2 separate regions of the Homo sapiens genome follow, and region 2 is linked to region 1. The links are contacts of gene promoters, found by promoter capture Hi-C in blood cells and fetal thymus (Javierre and others, 2016). All regions are on one chromosome and are shown on one strand. Each heading gives the region's core, a stretch centred on a gene start or on the middle of the fragment in contact. The rest is flanking DNA. Distances are from core to core; before and after follow the strand shown.

What was found. The method cuts DNA at HindIII sites, captures the fragments that hold promoters and counts their contacts. A CHiCAGO score of 5 or more calls a contact.
Region 2: a contact is called between the fragment with the promoter of OTUD6B here and the fragment with the promoter of RBIS in region 1, in 1 of 17 cell types (naive CD8 T cells). The highest score is 7.4, in naive CD8 T cells.

What each region holds. Positions count from the first base shown.
Region 1 is chr8:85,219,110-85,221,921 of GRCh38, reverse strand. It overlaps RBIS (ribosomal biogenesis factor), which reads left to right and starts at 1,548. Exons shown (of 4, transcript NM_001099673.3): 1 at 1,548-1,616. LOC124901969 (a long non-coding RNA gene) reads right to left here and starts at 1,375. Exons shown (of 4, transcript XR_007060985.1): 1 at 797-1,375. RefSeq lists enhancers at 1-528, 1,012-1,251, 1,562-1,691, 1,301-2,072. The HindIII fragment of the contact is 10,198 bases long and covers 1-2,812 here.
Region 2 is chr8:91,069,004-91,072,120 of GRCh38, reverse strand. It overlaps OTUD6B (OTU deubiquitinase 6B), which reads right to left and starts at 1,777. Exons shown (of 7, transcript NM_016023.5): 1 at 1,655-1,777; 2 at 832-983. The coding sequence starts at 1,736. It overlaps OTUD6B-AS1 (OTUD6B antisense RNA 1), which reads left to right and starts at 1,932. Exons shown (of 3, transcript NR_110438.1): 1 at 1,932-2,190; 2 at 2,299-2,542. RefSeq lists an enhancer at 1,550-1,729. The HindIII fragment of the contact is 11,349 bases long and covers 290-3,117 here.

The DNA of each region.
Region 1 (2,812 bases), core at 299-2,798:
TCTAGTTAGTTGTGTGGCTGCCAGCACACGGCTTAAACTCTGAACCTTAGTAGTATCATCACTTGCAAAACAGGAGTGGTTTTATCACCTTATTTTGAGCATAGTGTAGGCTGAAATCTTTTGTAAGCTACAAAATGGCATATAAATGTCAGTTTTACTGACAGAGCAGGAGCACCGTCATCTCGGACAAACACCGCCATTTTTAAGTTCCAGCTCCCTTTCTAGCCTCATGAATTTCAAGGAAATCACTTCTCTTCTAATTACAAGCAGATAGAAAGAGCAGTCAGTAAAACACAGATAAGACAGCTCAGGCAGAGTGAAGTAGGGGGAAAATCTCTTGGCTAACTACCAAACCTCACCCTCATACAATGAGCCCCAGTGAAACAGTGGGCCTTAATAAGCACATTCCTTTCCCTTCAGGTGTACTAAGATAGGGAAGCTAAAAGCAGACTTTTAGCTGCGGGTATGCCTGCAGCTGCAGAAAGATGTATGGGAACAGACACACAACTCTCCCTCCCAGATAAGCACAGCAAAGAGACACAGAAGCAGTCCAAGCCTCTGTTAAACTCTCCCACCCTGAATCCTTAAAAACTCTTAGTCTGTAAGAGAGTGTGGCTCTGACCTAACTTGGCCAGCTGCCAGTCTCAGGTTTATTTAAAATAAACCTGTCCCTGTTGACTATAAAGCCACCCTTCGTGCTTCTCTCCTCTATTTAATTCTTACATCTACGTTTGTTTGAAATCCAGCTTTTCCTATGACCTCAACAAAATAAATAGAGGCACATGTGAAAACTTACCTTTAATAGGGTTATTCTCTTGGAAGAATTGAGTCAATTTTCTTAAAGCAGAAAAACCTAGACGACGTTATGGGTTGAATGTTTTAAGTTCCTTGGTACCTGTTTTATTTGTATATTTTATACTGTGCCTGGTTTCTTGTGCCTTTGCAGTGCTGTCAAAAATTCTCTTTTTGAAACAAGGAAGCTGCAGTGAGAAAAACATTTCTAACTCGCAGTGCATTACAAATCTTCCTTTCGGAGATTATAGCTCTAGATCTTTTCCAACCTCAAGGCTCCCTCTACCGCCAGCCGAGCCCTGGAAACCACCCAGAGGTGCACAGCGCCTCCTCCTGGGAGAGTGGCAGAGTCAGCCGGGAGTCCGCGGCGGAGCGCTGACCTCCGGTGCGGCGGTCTTCACTGTGCAGTCTCAGAAGCACCTCGGGAAGTTTCTGCACAAGTACCCACGCCAGCAAGGGGAGACTTGGCTGGCTCCATAACGCCCCAAACTCGCTTGAGCTGAGGATAAGTCTGCAACACCGCGGAAGACAAGGGATGCTAATGAGACTGGACTTCCGAACCTCGCTCTATGGGTGGGGCTTCGCTTTTTCACTGCACCTTGCTCCTTAGACTTGGCTCTATGGGCGGGACTACGCCAGGTGGGTGGGAACTCACTCTATGGGCGGGACTTCCGCCTATGGACGGGGCTCCGTTCGGTGGGCGGAGCTACGGCTCGTGAGCGGAATCCTGACTGGTTCATCCTCCCCGGAACTTCCTAGACGCCGTACGTGCCAGATGGTGTTACCTGGAGCTTAAAAAGCTGCACGCAAGTGTTAAACTTCTGGTGAGAGTTTAATAAATTAAGTTTTCTGGAGGGCTGGCGTGAAGTTTGCAGGGGTCGGGGTTGGATTGGGCCGGTCTCGTACCGCTGTGGCCTGTAGGCTCGGTTCCGTCGCGCTCTGCCTCAGGCAGCCCTACTGGGTAGCAGGCCCGAAACCCCGGTGCTTGTTGGGCTTTCATCTCCTGACGGGGTCCCAGTTTTGGGCTGTGTCTTTCATGATCAGTTTCTACGTGGTTTTCAGAGAATTTCCCTCCACTCGCACACCCCCACTAGTGTATTACTTTCTCCACGAACCTTGCTCAGGTCTACAGCTCTAGTAAACCTCTCCACTTGTAGACTGTCTGTTCATGGTCCATGTGTATATTATAGGTAGTGTCATGTACAATATACCTATCATGTCTGTGTATGTTCCGTATATATACTGTCATTATTTATGTTCCATATATATTTTTTGTGTATAAAATATAGGTTCTCTACCACACGTGGCATATAGCAATTGATTTATACTAGATGAATGATTGGATTTTGGTTACTATTGTAATTATTTTATTTTAATTTTTATTTATTTATTTTTGAGACTGAGTCTCAGTCTGTCGCCCAGGCTGGTGTGCAGTGGCGTGATCTCGGCTCACTGCAACCTCCGCCTCCTCGTGTCTCAGCCTCCCGAGTAGCTGGGATTAGAGGCGCGCGTCACCACGCCCGGCTAATTTTAATTTTTTTTAGTGGAAACGGGGTTTCATCATGTTGGCCAGGGTGGTCTCGAACTCCTGGCCTCAAGTGATCCGTCCGCCTCGGCCTCCCAAAGTGCTGGGATTACAGGCATGAGCCACCGCGCCCGGCTTGGAATGATTTTAGAGTACTTCATTTGAGGGGTTTTATTATGTGTATTTTATTTTTTGCATCTTCTGTAATAACCATGTATTTTCTACTGCATTCTTTTTTAAGTAGGAGGAATACTGTTGGCGTTCAAAAGCATTGCTGTTTCAGTTAAGTAGTTCCTTAATTACTTACAATGTAGTAAGGCTACATTGAAGGAAGATATAAATTTCAGTCAAGACTACGACTGAGCAAAGGTAAAAAAGGAAGAATGTTCAAGGTGTCTGTGCAAGAGAACAGTTAGACCAGGCTGGCTAGAGCAGTGTTTATAGGGACGTAACAGGAGATATGTGTGGCAGATTTAGGGTAGATTCAGAGTGCCA
Region 2 (3,117 bases), core at 528-3,027, 5.8 Mb before region 1:
AGTTAAAATTATGAAAGTTAGGATGCTCCAACTTACCCAAGAAACATCAGTAAAATTTCATTCATTACAACTTGTTAATAAAGCACTTTTATAACAAAAATGACTTCACGTTCACTTTCTTGATTCTTACAAAAACCTGTGCTTAGAGTGTAGAAATATTTGTATCGTATTATATATGTGGGAAAATTTGAGCTCAGAAAGATTAAGTAACCTTGCTCAGGTTACAATCCCATTCAGTCGCAATTCTGGGATCAGATGCCTGGTCTTCCAACTTTGATTTGGTGAAGCTTCATCTTTTGGGCAAGTAAATAGGTAAAGAAGTATAGCACTTTCTTTGCCGATCTCCCTTATAGAAACACACTGCCCTGTAAACTTGGTCACAAAAACATTAATGAGAAGTGATGCATGAGCATAACTAAGTGATTTCATTTCCCTACCAATTTTATGATTTTAGATAATAAACAGTTTAACAGGGCCGGGCACGGTGGCTCACGCCTGTAATCCCAGCACTTTGGGAGGCCGAGGCGGGTGGATCACAAGGTCAGGAGATCGACACCGTCTTGGCTAACATGGTGAAACCCTGTCTCTACTAAAAATACAAAAAATTAGCCGGGCGTAGTGGCGGGCGCCCGTAGTACCAGCTACTCGGGAGGCTGAGGCAGGAGAATGGCCTGAACCCGGGAGGCGGAGCTTGCAGTGAGCCAAGATTGAGCGTGTTTTGCAAAGCGAGACACCGTCTCAAAAAAAAAAAAAAAAGCAGTTTAACATTTAACAGAAGTGGACAGCTGTTTTCAAATGGTGTAGGCAACGACAAACATTTATTTCACATACCTTATTCTCCTTAGTAGTCAGCTTCAATTGCTCCAGTTCCTCTCTATGTTTCTGTTCCATTTCTTTTTCCAACTTGGCCACATCTTCGGTGAGTTGCTTCCTCCTCTTCTTGTCATTCTTGGGAACAGCATTCTTCATGCCCTGAATTTTGGCTGAAAAGCCATTAAAATCATTAAGTCAGACACGCAGGAGTAAAAGGAGATGAGAAACAGGAACCAATAAGGGGATGGTAACGGGCGAAGGGTACAGAAAAAGTAATTATGGAAGAAAGAGTCATCACGTAACAGGCAGCTACAGAGAGAGAAGATCCCAGATAAAGCTGAGACCAAAAAAAAAAAAAACTTCATTAACAAAATCTTGAATATGTTTCGGTTGTTTGGCGAGATAAGAGAAGGAAAAAAACCTGACTGTAGCCAGTTTTAAATCTTTCCGGTATCCTTTCTGAACCTCCTAAACTGAGGCGGGTCCATTCAAAATACACCCATTAGGGACAAGTATCGGTAACTGGGGCAGGTATAGAAAAGGGAGGCATCGTGGGTTTGGGAGCGGACCAAGACGGCGGCTTCTAGGTATTTTCAGACACCTGCACCCCGGCGGCGGCGCGGGGTAGGGGGCACGCCGCAGGCCTCAGAAGGGGAAGCCTCTGAAGGTTGGGGAATTAAAGGGCCGCCGGGGTAGGTGAAGAGAGAAGAGGCCACTTGCTACTAGGGGAAGTCTAGGGTGATCCAGATAAGTCACGCCTTGAGATTCCCCAGAATCGACCCGCCACGCGCCCTTCCCCCAGTCGCGGCGGCTTCCAGATTCCCACTTCCTTCCGCCTCACCTTGCAACTCCTTCTTCTCTTTGCGATGCCTTCTCAGCAGCTGCTCTTCCTCATCAAGCTCTTCGGTCAATACCGCCTCCATGACGACCAGGTACCCCAGCACACGCGCTAGAAGAAACCTGCACCGGCTAGTAGGCACCTTCCACCCCTCAACCCTCACCCGGGGCTCCATTGGCTACGGCTGGGACCCAGCCCCGCCTTCAAGGCGGCACCGGATCTAAGCAAAGCCACTGCAAAGACGAGAAACTTAAATGGGGTGCTGCGCGTGCGCGCTACCGTGACCCTGCCGTGATGGGCGGGGCGGCAGGGGAGGAACCAGACTGCGAGCGGAGAAGCGGAGTTTGCAGCCTCGGAATTGGCTAGAGCGCCAGAGCCGAGTCAGCCATAAAGCTACGCGCTAGGCTCTTGGCCCTGACGTGAGGCGCGCAGAGATGGCGTAACGGGAATAGTTTTCAACGTCTATTTCATTCCCTGCTTCAGAGGACCTCTTTAATCTTTGATTTTGGTCCCTGTTTCTAAGAAAAGCAACTGAAAAGGTAAGAAAGAAAAATAACGCATTTTAATAAAGCCGTCGATAATTATCAATGGGAATCTTTGGGCTGTTTGGGGCTGTGTGGAATTAAATTATGTTTATTGTCTCCAAGGTCGTAATACCGCCCCTGAGAAAAAAGGAGCAGCGCTAAATAATCGAGAAAATGCCTCCTCTTGAAACGGATATAGAGATGGAAACAAGATATAAGAAGGATTGAGAATCATATAATACAGGAGCTTAAACACCTATGCGCGATGATAAAGAGGGTACTATTAGAGCGCTTGGAAAATACCAGGAAGTTGAGAGAGTTAACAGAAGGGCGCACGCTGGATTGGCCACAAAATCGAATTACTGAAGTAAGTGCAAAACGACAAATTGTCACAGAATACAGAGAAAAGGGGAAAAGAAATTAAGAGGAGAAAAAGAGAGATCTAGAGGGCCGGTCCAGGAGATACAATCTATGCATAATAGGAATACCTGAAACTGAGGACAGAGCAAGTGGAGCTGAAACAATAAAGGATCTACTTGAAAAAATTTTCCAGAATTGAAGAACGAACTAGATCTACAAATGGAAAAGGCTCATAGGATACCTTTAAAGTTTAATGAAAAGAAAGCAGCATCTAGACATATCCGGGTGACGTTTTTGAATTTCAAAGACGAAACATTTTACAAGCATCCAGTCAGAGAAAGCAGGTTACTTACAAAGGGGCAAAAGTCAGGCTGACCTCAGATTTTTCTCCTGCAATTCTAAATGCCAGAAGACAGTGGAACAATATCTAGAGTGTTAAGGGAAAATAATTTTGAGCCAAGAATTATATACTCTGCCAAGTTATCATTTCTTTACAAAGGAAACTGGAAGACATTCTTAGATATACAGGGGTTAGGAAAGTATATCAACCAAGAACTTTCCCTGAAAATTTTGCTGAAGGAT